Linked DNA regions of Homo sapiens: regions 1, 2, 4 and 5 are each linked to region 3. The links are contacts of gene promoters, found by promoter capture Hi-C in blood cells and fetal thymus (Javierre and others, 2016). All regions are on one chromosome and are shown on one strand. The core of a region is centred on a gene start or on the middle of the fragment in contact, and the rest is flanking DNA. Distances in the headings are between cores, read along the strand shown.

What was found. The method cuts DNA at HindIII sites, captures the fragments that hold promoters and counts their contacts. A CHiCAGO score of 5 or more calls a contact.
Region 1: a fragment that was not itself captured here is called in contact with the fragment with the promoter of BAZ1B in region 3 in 3 of 17 cell types (total B cells, non-activated CD4 T cells and total CD4 T cells); the score reaches 7.4 in total B cells.
Region 2: a fragment that was not itself captured here is called in contact with the fragment with the promoter of BAZ1B in region 3 in 2 of 17 cell types (neutrophils and naive CD4 T cells); the score reaches 7.5 in neutrophils.
Region 4: a fragment that was not itself captured here is called in contact with the fragment with the promoter of BAZ1B in region 3 in 1 of 17 cell types (total B cells); the score reaches 5.5 in total B cells.
Region 5: a contact is called between a fragment that was not itself captured here and the fragment with the promoter of BAZ1B in region 3, in 5 of 17 cell types (activated CD4 T cells, fetal thymus, non-activated CD4 T cells and 2 more). The highest score is 6.5, in activated CD4 T cells.

Annotation. Positions count from the first base shown.
Region 1 is chr7:72,825,299-72,827,998 of GRCh38, forward strand. TYW1B (tRNA-yW synthesizing protein 1 homolog B) reads right to left here. Exons shown (of 14, transcript NM_001145440.3): 2 at 1,557-1,687. Among named protein-coding and RNA genes, the nearest start is that of TYW1B, 1.6 kb to the right of the region's middle. The HindIII fragment of the contact is 1,791 bases long and covers 537-2,327 here.
Region 2 is chr7:72,915,014-72,917,817 of GRCh38, forward strand. It overlaps a transcript of POM121 not described here. Among named protein-coding and RNA genes, the nearest start is that of POM121, 8.7 kb to the right of the region's middle. The HindIII fragment of the contact is 1,703 bases long and covers 659-2,361 here.
Region 3 is chr7:73,520,995-73,523,694 of GRCh38, forward strand. It overlaps BAZ1B (bromodomain adjacent to zinc finger domain 1B), which reads right to left and starts at 1,299. Exons shown (of 20, transcript NM_032408.4): 1 at 833-1,299. The coding sequence starts at 939. RefSeq lists silencers at 543-1,422, 1,773-1,912 and an enhancer at 1,483-1,642. The HindIII fragment of the contact is 2,091 bases long and covers 1-1,960 here.
Region 4 is chr7:72,931,560-72,934,259 of GRCh38, forward strand. All of the region lies in intron 5 of POM121 (POM121 transmembrane nucleoporin), which reads left to right. Among named protein-coding and RNA genes, the nearest start is that of POM121, 7.8 kb to the left of the region's middle. RefSeq lists a silencer at 2,508-2,698. The HindIII fragment of the contact is 3,243 bases long and covers 1-2,700 here.
Region 5 is chr7:74,175,239-74,177,938 of GRCh38, forward strand. All of the region lies in intron 1 of EIF4H (eukaryotic translation initiation factor 4H), which reads left to right. Among named protein-coding and RNA genes, the nearest start is that of EIF4H, 2.2 kb to the left of the region's middle. RefSeq lists an enhancer at 1-183. The HindIII fragment of the contact is 2,137 bases long and covers 277-2,413 here.

The DNA.
Region 1 (2,700 bases), core at 182-2,681, 700 kb before region 3:
AACTAGATATCAGCTGTATTTACTTTAGTGTCTACCTTTAACACTTTTAGCACTATTAGAAATCAAAACAAGTTTCATTACATAGATGTGTGACGTGAGGCCAGGTGCAGTGGCTCACGCCTGTAATCCCAGCACTTTGGGAGGCCGAGGCAGGCGCATCACCTGAGCCCAGGAGTTTGAGAGCAGCCCAGCCAACGTGGCAAAACCCCATCTCTACTAAAAATACAAAGATTAGCCAGAGCGTGGTAGCAGGCACCTATAATCCCAGCTACTCGGGAGGCTGAGGCAGGAGAATTGCTTGAGGTGGAGGTGGAGGTTGCAGTGAGCCGAGATCGTGCCACTGCACTCCAGCCTGGGTGACAGAGTGAGACTCTGTCTCAAAAAACAAAATAAAAAATAAACATAGATGTGTGATGTGAAAGTCAGGCCCATATTGGAACTATTGGTGCCATCCTTTTTTCCCTATTCCCTACTTCCATACCCATGGGCATCGATAATGGACTCACAACTTTCTCTAGCCTGCTGAGGCAGAAGCAAGCTTCAGAACAAAGGCCCCCTCAAGACAGTGACCATCAGACACCACCAGTCAGCTCTAACTGGGCACAGGAGATGAAACCCGCCTACCATCGCAGAAAGGAAAAATATTTGAGGGGAAAAGGCTGGGAGAAAGAATAAAGAAGGTTAGATGACCAATTCAGTTCACTGCTAAAGGACAGTTCACTGCTAAAGTTCACTGCTAAAGGGATTTTCTTAAAATGTCAGGAAACCAAAGGAAAAGCATCATATAAACTTCTTAACTTTGCTGTTCCAGTCTGAGAACCATAAAAAATCTTCACTCCAGACACAAAGATGTCTTTCTCTCGAAGGGAGACATAACCATTTGTCATCAAATCCTGAGCTGCTTTTGGAACAGATTTTTCCTGTAAGTTCCTGCCCTTGAAGACAAATAATTACACAAAATCCATCAAGCCTAAATCGTTTCCCAACTTCAGCAGGGATGAAAGGTAGCACAGATACTGACACACTTTATTTTTCTCTTAATCTGACACACCTGTATTTTTCTCTTAAATCTTTCTGGTTGTATTCCTCAAATATTAGCCCCTTGGTATAATAAGGTCCTTTAATAGGCAGGACCCACATTTTTAAGGCTCATGATTTCCATTCCCTCCAAGAAAAAACTTTACATACTTTTATCCTATAAGGTATTTTAGTAGAATAATAGTAGGAACTTATTTTCTGATCCTTAATTAATGGAAAGAGAGGACTACTGACCCTTAAAGGTATAAAACAAATTTGTTTTTCATATAAAAGGTTCACTTTTCATTACAAAAATCTTCCTGTATCTTAAAAATGAGACACACCTATCAAAGAAAAAGTAAGTAACTTAATCCAAGATAACTTAGTCTCCAAAAACTTAGAGAAGAAATTTATTTTAGGCATTTCATTAAAATGTCTAAAGACCAAACACAAAAGTAATTAAAGGTTCCTTTTAGTGTTTAAATCCTCTATAAAATCTGATGCCTAAATACTCTATTAAAAAAAATAACTCCACTTACCTGCATCTCGATGACAATCTGGACACAAATCCAAAGGCTAATGCTAACAGCAAAGCCCAGATAAATGTAAAACCTGTTTATCCATAATGATATTAAAGGTGAGGAGAGGTCCCATGTATCCGCAGAAGGATCTAAATTTAAAATGACACACACAGATAATTTCATTTAAAGCTACATATACAAAGATATCCTTCCCGATTTTAAGAAGAAAATAAAACCAACCTTACATTCAACAACCCAGCTAAGAAATCTAATTTAAAAATCAACTGTTGGCCGGGCACAGTGGCTCATGCCTGTAATCCCAGCACTTTGGGTGGCTGAGGCGGGCAGATCACCTGAGGTCAGGAGTTCGAGACCAGCCTGGCCAACATGGTGAAACCCCGCCTCTACTAAAAATACAAAAATTAGCCGGGCATGGTGGCGCGCGCCTGTAATCCCAGCTACTCGGGAGGCTGAGGCAGGAGAACTGCTTGCACCTGGGAGGCAGAGGTTGCAGTGAGCCAAGATTGCGCCACCGCACTCCAGCCTGGGCGACAGAGCAAGGCTCCATCTCGTGGGGGGGGCGGGGGAATCAACTGTAATAAAAATAACACACTATGTAGTAACGTAATAAAATTATCATACTGTTAACACTAACTCAAAGAAAAAACAGAATATAAAACTGTATCTTCACTTCGAAATGAGCATTTAGAAGCAAGAGAAGGAACATAAAGTAAAAATACTTCATGTGAAATTAAGTTAATTGTTTTGTTGTGCTTGCTCCATAAAAAAAGCTTAAGTAGTAAAAGTATTCTTTTTACTAACTGTACTTTCAAAGGCTCACGGTTAAACTTGTAAAAGATTCTCAAGTAACTGACCTTACGTCTCATTTTTTTTTTTAAGAGAGATATGGAAGGACCTGGCTTCAAACGTTCAACCTGGCAGCAATTTCAAAAGTCGAAGCCTGAAATTTAGGCTTTACAGGTGCAAAAGTCCTAATACACGTGGGTAAAGTGGGAGGGGTAGTTTTCTGTCTAACCCCCTAGCCTCAAAAGGCAAAAGCCAGGTCAAAAGTAGGGATCGGTCCTCCTTGCTCTCAGCGGCGGCTAGCCGGTGCTGTCAAGTGCAACAGTCTCCGAAGGAAGGGGACCGAGGACGCCACTCC
Region 2 (2,804 bases), core at 260-2,759, 610 kb before region 3:
AAGAGGGTGAAGAAATGAGAGGCTTAGGGGCTCCAAACACAAACTTGACCAGTTTTACAATTTTGTTAGCAACAATCTTGAGAGAATCAATACAAACTTTAGGTAGCTTGGTACTTTGCCCTTCAGGACAGTTCTTCCCTGGTAATGTTAGATTGTTGGGGTTAACCATTACTGTGCCATTACAGATGAGCTTCGGCTGCCCTCTAGTGGCAGCAGCAACCTGGATCTCAGGAACAAAGATCATTCTAGCATTGGGACCAGCTCTGCGTCATGAGTATGTCATCAGTGCCTAGCATATTACCTGGCATCTATTCAGAGCTAATAACTAACTAATATTGATTAACAAACTAGCCAACATGCACTGCTTTTTGTTTGTTTTTGAGACGAGTCTCACTCACCTAGGCTGGAGTACAGTGGCACGATCTCGGCTCCTCCTCCGCCTCGCACCTCCCAGGTTCAAGCAATTCTTCTGCCTCATCCTCCCTAGTAGCTGGGATTACAGGTGTGCACTACTACACCCGGCTAAATTTTTTGTATTTTTAATAGAGACAGGGTTTCCCCATGTTGGCCAGGCTGGTCTTGAACTCCTGACCTCAGGTGATCCACTTGCTTTGGCCTCCCAAAGCACTGGGATTACAAGTATGAGCCACTGCGCCCAAGCTTTTTGTTTGTGTTTTGAGACAGAGTCTCACTGTGTTGCCCAGGCTGGAGTGCAGTGGCGTGATCCAGGCTCACTGCAACCTCCGCCTCCTGGGTTCAAGAGATTCTCCTGCCTCAGCCTCCCAAGTAGCTGAGATTATAGGCGCCCACCACCATGCCAGGCTAATTTTTGTGTTTTTAGTAGAGTAATTTAGTAATTTTTGTATTTTTAGTCTTGAACTCCTGAGCTCAGGTGATCCACCCACCTTGGCCTCCCAAAGTGTTGGGATTACAGGCGTGAGCCACCGTGCCTGGCCCTTTGCCCACTTTTTGATGGGGTTGTTTGTTTTTTCCTTGTAAATTTGTTTAAGTTCCTTGTAGTTTCTGGATCTACAAGAATCTACAAGATCTGGACCTGACCTTTGTCAGATGGGTAGGTTGCAAAAATTTTCTCCCGTTCTGTAGGTTGCCTGTTCACTCTGATGCTAGTTTCTTTTGCTATACAGAAGCTCTTTAGTTTAGTTAGATCCCATTTGTCAATTTTGGCTTTTGTTGCAATTGCTTTTGGTGTTTTAGTCATGAAGTCTTTGCCCATGCCTATGTCCTGAATGGTATTGCCTAGGTTTTCTTCTAGGATTTTTATGGTTTTGGATTTTACATTTAAGTCTTTAATCCATCTTGAGTTAGTTTTTTATAAGGTGTAAGGACAGGGTCCAGTTTCAGCTTTCTGTATATGGCTAGCCAGTCTTCCCAGCACCATTAAATAGAGAATCCTTACCCCATTGCTTGTTTTTGTCAGGTTTGTCGAAGATCAGATGGTTGTAGATGTGTGGTGTTATTTCTGAGGTCTCTATTCTGTTCCATTGGTCTATGTATCTGTTTTGGTACCAGTACCATGCTGTTTTGGTTACTGTAGCCTTGTAGTATAGTTTGAAGTCAGGTAGCGTGATGCCTACAGCTTTGTTCTTTTTGCTTAGTATTGTCTTGGCTATACAGGCTCGTTTTTGGTTCCATATGAAATTTAAAGTAGTTTTTCTAGTTCTGTGAAGAAAGTCAGTGGTAGCTTGTTGGAAATAGCATTGACTCTGTAAATTATTTTGGGTAGTATAGCCATTTTCACAATATTGATTCTTCCTATCTATGAGCATGGAATGTGTTTCCATTTGTTTGTGTACTCTCTTATTTCCTTGAGCAGTGGTTTGTAGTTCTCCTTGAAGAGGTACTTCATGATTTATGAGAGTTTTTAAAAAGTTTTTGTCTGCTAAGTCCAACGTCTGGGCTTCCTAAGGGCTGATTTCCATCAATTTATTTTGTTATTTTGGATACGTTCCTTTGTCTTGGCATGATTTGTGACTGTCATTGAAACATGGACATTTGAATATTGCAAGGTAGTAACTCTGGCATTTAGATGATACTTCTCATTGTTTGCTATGTGTCTGTGAGTGAGTGTGTTTTTAATCATTGAAGGCTGTAGTAGTACATACATTTAGTGACTTCCAAACTATTTTTGCAAAGATTTATCATTTTCATGTGTGGTCACTGAAGTCTCTGATTCTTTTAGCTTGTGTTCAGCTCACATTTTGATAGAGATTTCCTTGAATACTAGGAGCTAAAAATGGAAGAAAACACCTCTCCCAGTCTTTGAAGTTTGCCTTTGCACCACAGCTTTTCTTCAGCACTTAGCTGGGCCTGCACTGACCCTCGTAATCAGGCCAAGGTGAAAGCTTAGGTCTTTCTGAGCGAGCATCCTGCCCTGGACAAAGCCCGTGTAACACCTGAGTGCTTGTGACTGCCCTGCTTTCCCAGAGGAATTCTCCCCAGCTTTTCTGCTTTCCCAGAGGAATTCTCCCCAGCTTTTCTGCTTTCCCAGAGGAATTCTCCCCAGCTTTCCTTCTCGGATTTAGGAAGTCTGTATTAGTTTGCTAGGGCTACCATCACGAAATGCCACAGACCATGTGGTTTCAACAGCTGGAAGTTATTTTCTCACAGTTCTAGAGGCCAGAAGTCAAAGATCAAGGTGCCAGCTGCAGGGACCAGCCCCACAGGGTCGGTGGGCTTCTCCCTGTGTGCAGCGATGAGAGAGTGTAGAAAGAAAGACACAAGACAAAGAGATAAAAGAAAAGACAGCTGGGCCCGGGGGACCACTACCACCAATGCGCAGAGAC
Region 3 (2,700 bases), core at 49-2,548:
GATAATGCTTATGCAAGAAATCTTAGTCATGACGAGAGGATGCTTCCTTTGTAAAACATCCAATTTCATGTTCCTAAAATACAACATAAAAACTTCACGTCTTGGTTTTTTTGTTTGTTTAATTTTAACAAATACCAATCTCCTTCTAAACCTTCAAAATTTCAAACCTGTGTCTGCCCAGGGAAGGCAGGCATCAGCTCCTCCACAGGCAGTTTCCTTCCCTCCCTTTCCTCTAAGCGGGGAATCTCATTCCTAGTTTTCTGCCCCAGGGTCCTGTCAGTTCATCCCCGGCCTAAAGTCCCCTCGGGAGACGAAAAAAACGCCAAGTATCCCCGCAGAGATCGGGGTAAGACGCAGTTGAGTCTTGCACACGCCGCATCACGAGGCCGCGCGAGTACAATTTCAAAACTTAAGCTGCAGGTTTCATTTAAATTTTTAAAAAATTTTTGTAAAAATTAAAGGAGAAAACCTAGCTCCCCCTCCCCACGCCTCCTCCTCCCTCTCGGGTCCTCAAGGCCTAAAGCCAACCCGGGGAAGGTAATGGGGATGGGGGATGCGCTCCTCGCCGGCGAGGCCCCGGGACAAAGTGCGGGGCCCCGGGGGCGGCCGAAGCGGGCCCTTCTCCTTCCAGGGCCGGTGCGCGCCCCCCGCCGGATCCCCTGGAAGGATCGGCGGGCGCAGGCTGAGACTCAGCCTCCAGGCCCGCGAGCGGCCGGGGCGCGCTGACAGCTGCCCCGGGCCGGGGATGCGCGGCTGACCTGGTCTCGCGAGCCCCAGGCCCTACCCCGGCCCAGCCCGGCCCAGCCCGGCCCGCGCGGCTGGAAAAGGATACTCCCGGGTGCGGAAGGCCTCCTGAGTGTGCGGGATGGTGAAGAGCGGCTCCTCTCCGGGCAACGGCTTCACCAGCGGGAAGGGCTTGCGGCCCAGGAGCGGCGCCATCGCGGCGGCGGCGGTGGGGACTGGCGGCTGCTGGGGCCGGCCCCGCGGCGCAGCACTAGGCCCCGCGGCCCGGAGCGAGCGCCAGGCGCCCGGGGGTGGGGTGGGGGAAGGGAGGGGTGAGAGGGCGGCGCGAACTCCGGCTCCCTCACCGCCGGCGCGGCCGCGCGACAGTCATGGAGCGGAACGCCACGGCGCAGAGCTCCCGCGCACACCGCCGCGCCTCCCAGCAGCCCCCCGCCGACCTCCGCTTCGGGTCCCGGCGGCCGGCAGTCACGACTCCTCCTCAGCAGCACCGGAGGAAATTATTGAAAAATGGCGGGAGATTCCCCTCCTCCCCCGGGCCCGGCCAACGCACACACTAACTTGCTCCCCCGTGGCGCCGGTGGCGAATGCTCCAATAGGCGGAGAGCTGGTCAGCGCTCACAGCCTATTGGCTCGGAGGAGCTGCCGCTCCGCGCCTGGGTCCCGCCCCCCTGCCCCTGTCGCGTAGTTGGGTTGCAGCGCACTAGAGGGCAGTCTGAAGAGGTGAAAGGTCACGTTATGTAAGCGCCCGTGATAGGCGTGCGGGCCTCCGACGGCAGAGTTAAAAGTGGGGGACAGCGGGGGATGGAGAGGACGAGAACTCAAAGAGGTCAAGCCGGAGAAGCCCCTCGCATATACAGATACTGCGCCATCTGTCACCGACGGCGACACCGACATCCGGGCACCACTGTCCGTGTGGTGCGCCGGAGGGGGAGGGTGAGCGCGCGGCCAGGGGCTTTGTCTTTCCTCTTGGGCGCCTCCCCCTTCTTAAAGGCGCCGTGCTCGGCCACGCCCGGGGATGCGCGGGTGGGGCTGGGCTGCAGGGAGGGGTTGGCGGGAAGTGGCCCCGGGAGCTTACCCTACCAAAGGTTCTGCGGAAGGACAACGTGGGGGCCAGCTTTGCTCACCCCAGAGTTAACTTCTGGGCGGGAGTGTGGTTGAGATCTGGGTAGAAGTATACTGCTTGTTTCTAGGGGCTGGCTGGAAAGTAGAATATAGAAGCTTCTTTGGAGAAATAGATTAAAAGACGTACTTAGTTTTTTGGTTTTTGGTTTTTGTTTTTTTTGAGACGGAGTCTCGCTCTGTCGCCCAGGCTGGAGGGCAATGGCGCGATATCGGCTCACCGCAACCTCCGCCTCCCGGGTTCAAGAGATTCTCCTGCCTCAGCCTCCCAAGTAGCTGGAATTACTGGCGTGCACCACCACGCCCGGCCAATTTTGTATTATTAGTAGAGACGGGGCTTCTCCATGTTGGTCAGGCTGGTCTCAAACTCCCGACTTCAGGTGATCCGACCGCCTAGGCCTCCCAAAATTATCATTATTTTTTTTTTTGAGACGGAGTTTCACTCTTGTTGCCCAGGCTGGAGTGCAGTGGTGCAGTCTCGGCTCACTGCAACCTCTCCCTCCCGGGTTCAAGCTATTCTCTTGCCTCGGCCTCCCGAGTAGCTGGGACTACAGGTGCGCGCCACCACACCCGGCTATTTTTTGTATTTTGTAGAGACGGGGTTTCACCATGTTGGTCAGGCTGGTCTCGGACTCCTGATCTCAGGTGATCCACCCGCCTCGGCCTCCCAAAGTGTTGGGATTACAGGCGTGAGCCACCACGCCCTGCCAGAGCTGTGACTCTGGCTTTTTTTTTTTTTCTCCCATGATACTCAGCACCTGGCTCGGAACATTGTAGGTGCTAGTGAATACTATTTGAATGAATTGGATCTACCTTTTATTTTTTATTTTTTTTGTA
Region 4 (2,700 bases), core at 162-2,661, 590 kb before region 3:
GTAACACGCAATTTCTTTTTTTTTTTTTTTGCCGGAGTCTTACTCTTGTCGCCCAGGCTGGAGCACAGTGGTGCGACCTTGACTCACTGCAATCTCCGCTTCCTGAGTTCAAGCGATTCTCCTGCCTCAGCCTCCCAAGTAGTTGAGACTATAGGTGCCCGCCACCATGCCCAGCTAATTTTTGTATTTTTAGTAGAGACGAGATTTCACCATGTTGGCCAGGCTGGCATCGAACTCGTGACCTCAGGTGATCCACCCACCTTGGCCTCCCAAAGTGCTGGGATTACAGGCATGAGCCACCACGCCTGGCCCATGCAATTTCAAAATAGCGGTATCAGTGTCATTGTTAACACTGTCATTATTAAGACGGCTGAAGTCAGTTTAAGAATTGTGATTCATTTGTCTTTATATCCCTGTGTGAATGCTACGGACATGTAATCAATATATCGTGTTTTAAAGTAATGTTAATTGTCCTTTGGGTACACCAACTTTATATACAGTGAGGTTCGTTTGTTCAGTATGTTTGAAAGTTACAGGGATTTCTGTGTTTTCCTTTTTGAAATAGTTCTGTTTTAAATTATGTAAAATCTTTGAAACAATAAGTTGTTTCAAAAAAAATACACTAAAACAAGATACACTCAAAAATTCAGTTTCCATCCCTTTCCACTCTACATTTTTCCTTCCTCTCCATTTTTATTTTTTGATTATCCTTTATTGTTTTTTAAACGGTATGCATATCAGTGTATCTGAAAACCGCCACCTTCTAACATTTAAGGTAGTAGACAGTATATACAGATTTGAACCTTGCTTTTTCACATAATAGATAGTTGAGGTCATTCCATAGCAGTACACAGAAACTCATCTTTGGTCTTAAAACTGCATAGGTACTTTAGTCCTCTGTTGACAAATGTTGGGTTGTTTCAGTCTTCTGCTATCACAAATAATGCTGCAAAGAATACATTTGTTCATATGTCATTTCATCCTTGGCAATTTTGCCTCTGGAAAGTTCCTAGAAGTCAGATTCCCAGGTCAAAGGTTAAATGCGCATGTAATTTTGCTGGATATTGTTAAATCCCCCTACAGAGCATGCACCACTCAGCATTCCCCTCAGCGTTGTATGAGAGGGACCATTTCTCCATGGCCTCACCAGCAGATTTGGTTATTGTAGCTCTGGGCTTTTACCAATTTCACAGGTTAAAAATAGTATCTAAGACAGGCGTGGCAGCTCATGCCTGTAATCCCAGCACTTTGAGAGGCCGAGGAAGGCAGATCACTGGAGGTCAGGAGTTCGAGATCATCCTAGCCAACATGGTGAAATCCTGTCTCTACTAAAAACATAAAAATTAGCTGGGCATGGTGGCACATGCCTGTAATCCCAGCTACTCAGGAGGCTGAGGAAGGAGAATATCAGGAACCTGGGAGGCAGGGGTTGCAGTGAGCAGAGATAGCGCCACTCCACTCCAGCCTGGGCGACAGAGTGAGACTCTGTCTCAAAAAAAAAAAAAAAGCCAGCCGAGCTTGGTGGCTTACACCTGTAATCCCAGCACTTTGGGAGGCTGAGGCAGGTGGATCACCTGAAATCCGGAGTTTGAGACCAGCCTGGCCAACGTGGCAAAAACCGGTTGCTACTAAAAATACAAAAAATTTAGCCAGGCGTGGTCGTGTGTGCCTGTAATCCCAGTTACTTGGGAGGCTGAGGCAGGAGAACTGCTTGACCCTGAAAGGCAGAGGTCAAGTGAGCCGAGCTCACGCCACTGCCCTCCAGCCTGGACGACAGAGTGAGATTCTGTCTCAAAGAAAAAAAGGTATCTAATTTTTGTCTCTTATGAGTAGTTTGATCATCTGTTCATATGTTGAATGATTATTTTCAGTTCTGTTTCCATGAGTCTTAGTTCATATCCTTTACCCATTTTTCTGAAGGGCTACCAGCCAAATCTCATGTTCAAGAGTTTTTCCTATAGTAGAGAAACCTATTCCAAATGAAGCAAAGTTTTGAACGTAAAATAGAAACCATAGAAGTGCAGTGTTAGAAGAAACAGGCTCCTCACGCGTTGCTGGTGGGAGTGTCAGTTGGTACAGCTCTCTAGAGGGCTTTGTGACAGGAATTGTCCACATAAGAGATACATGCACCCTTTGATCAAGCAGCTTTACCTTTAGGAAGTTATCCTACACACATACTGGGAAATGGATACAAGGATTTAATGTAACATTGTTTTAATAATAGCAGCTTGGAAACAATGTACATGTTATCTTTTCAGGGAGCTGACTGAATAACTTACAGTATTGGTGTAAGTTGGAATATACTATGTAACTATGAAAAAGAATAAGGCAACTGAAGAAGTACTCATGAGAATGATCTCAAAAAGCAATTACATAAAAACAAGGCTCAGAACTGTATAGTATCCTCTATTATTCGGGCTTTTAAAAATCTTTTAATATGCATAAAATAATTCTTACAGGATATATTAAAAACTGGCAATCATTACTGAGATAAAAAGGAAATTTACTTTTTACTGTACAGTCTTTTTTTTTTTCTTTCTTTTGAGACAGAGTCTCGCACTGTCGCCCGGGCTGGAGTGCAGTGCTGTGACCTTGGCTCACTGCAACCTCCACCTCCTGGGTTCAAGCAATTCCCCAGTCTCAGCCTCCCAAGTAGCTGGGATTACAGGCACCCACCACCATGCCCGGCTAATTTTTGTA
Region 5 (2,700 bases), core at 95-2,594, 650 kb after region 3:
GAGCTCATGGTGTTTAATTCCAGGACTCTGCACTTTTTTTTATTTTATTTTTTAAATACAAGTTGCCTCGTTAGAATATAGGCTATGAACATCTTGCTGTTTGTCAAGGACACACTTGGGCTTTGTGTTTTCTTGCAGAAAGGATTACTTTCCCAGGATAACACCACAATAATACACACTGAGGTGTTCAGTCTCCTGGGTTGCAGTCCAAAAGTATCTTTGTTTGGTAAAGAATGATCACTTTTAATACCTTGGTTTGGGAACGGCTCAGACAAAAGCTTGTTTCGGGGCAGGAGTGTAGCTAATGTTCATGATACTGTAACGTGGAAGTGTGCCGGTGTAGGTGGAGCTATTGTCATTCCAAAGAACATTTTATTTGCTAATAAAAAAAGAAGTAAATGTTGGATGACATGAAATTATCGCCTTTGGGTTAGGTTTCTAAACATCAAATTTGTTCTCAAGTCATTTCGAAATTTAATAACTAGGGTTTTTTTTTTTTTCCTAGTTCCAAAAAACGTTCACAGAAGTACCCAGAAAAATTCTTCTTAAACAGCGTGGTCAATTTAAGTTTTAGTTGCATTGGGACTACAATAAGGTGACCTTATTAAACTGAGTGTGGGGATTTAAAAAAATTTCCTTCAGACACATTTGCCAGCTCTTCTGGTGTCAAATTTTGACATTTGGGGGTGCCAGGAACAATCAGAAGTAAAATTCTATTAAGATGCTATTAATTTCAAATCTCCACAGCAGATGAAAATATTAGCCATTTGCCCCAGGTGTACTCCAAAAACTGATAGGAGAGTTTCCTAGGTAGCACTGTGCATCACTTGAACTTCCTAATAGAAAGTCTCTTTACTGTTAAGCATCTTCTATGTCTCACTTACTTGGAATTTTCTATTTGGCTTCATATTAATGTGAAACTACATAAAGTATTGCTACTTTCAGAAGTAGTTTTAAAAACTTGTTGGTGAATTTACATATTCATTTATACATGTGTATTCTTTTTTTTTTTTTTTGAGATGGAGTTTCACTCTTGTTGCCCAAGCTGGAGTGCAATGGTGTGATCTCGGCTCACTGCAACCTCCACCTCCCGGGTTTAAGCGATTCTCCTGCCTCAGCCTCCCAAAGTGCTGGGATTACAGGCATTAGCCACCGCGCCCGGCCTCAATTATTTTAATTATGTCCACATGAACAAATGTCACTGCTTTACAATGCTTAAGCATCATAGAAGATTGCCACCTATGGAAAGCAGTTTTAACACTGCATTGTTTGGTACTTGTGTAGGCACCTTCTCCCTTGTCTAAAATGCCTCAGACAGGCTCGTACATCTCACCTCTGAATTACTTGGGTCACAGGTGAAAGAAATGGTAGGCCTAAAATGAACAGTTATCATCATAAAACATAGTTTGGTAGTTATACATCTTCCTAAGTTTATTTCGTAGTTGTGTTTAATAACCAGTGCAGTTGTCAGGAAACAGTATTGAACCACTGCTTTTTTCCCCCGAGCCTGTAAGGGCATGTCCCCAGCAGCCAGGGAGAGAACCAGGGACTGCATTGTTCAGCAAGCAAATCAAAACAAAATTCCAAATGATCAAGAGTTGATTGTACCAGATCTTGAATGGACTTTGTTTTGCAGTTTGCTAAATTATCTTTTTGAGGTTCCAGTTTCTCATCTACCATTGGCAGTAAAGTGCAGAGTAATACTGATTTTATATTTCTAATTGCAACAAAGCTATGAGTGCTTAGTGGAAAACCACCGATCCTGAGAATTAGGGTGGAAATTGGAGGTGGCAAGAATTGAGGTGGCTGAAATGGTGCCATCTAAAAACTGGCAAAACTCCAAATTTATTCTTTATCAGGATTCAGTTAGGGAGTTTAGAATTCTTTTTTAAATAGAGATGGGTTTCACTATGTTGCCCAGGCTGGTCTTGAACTCTTGGACTCAAGTGATCCTCCCGCCTCAGCCTCCCAAAGTGTTGGGATTACAGGCATGAGCTACCACGCCCAGCCTAGGAGTTTAGAATTCTAACCTTTGAATCTTTAAACTTAGCATGTCTGTCTAAATTTCTGAGCATATTTTTATCCAAAATTTTTATGGTGGTAAAATATACATAACATAAAATGTGCCACTTTACCCATTTTTCAGTATACATTTCAGGGATATTGAGTGTATTCGTAATGTATAACCATCACCACTATCCAGCTCCTTAACTCTTACAGCTTGTAAAACTAAAACCCTGTCCCCTTTGAATAGTAATTCCCTATTGCCCTCCTTCCCCCAGGTCCCTGGCAACCACCATTCTACTTCCTGTCTCTGAGCATATTTTAAGATTTGTATGTAATAGGAAGGAAAGCAGTGTATAAAAACTACAGCTAGTTTTCACTGATGCTAGGGCCTGTAAAGCTATTGAAAAGCTTATTTTAAAATGCTGTTTACATGTCAAATGTCAAGTCGTTTAGGTTTGTTATCCTTCTTCACTCCAAGTGTTCCATTGCTTAGTTCCAAACCATTATCCTCTATGAAAAGTGTTACCAGAAATATTTGGATTTGCTAAGAGGTCTCTGCATGACGGTTCATGTAAAAGCCCTGGCTTTGGAATAAGGCAGACCAGAGTTTCATCAGTTCAGCCATGTGTTAGTTGTGTGATCTGAAGTAAGTTTCTTCACCTCTCTGAGCCTCGTTTTCCCCACATATGAGTT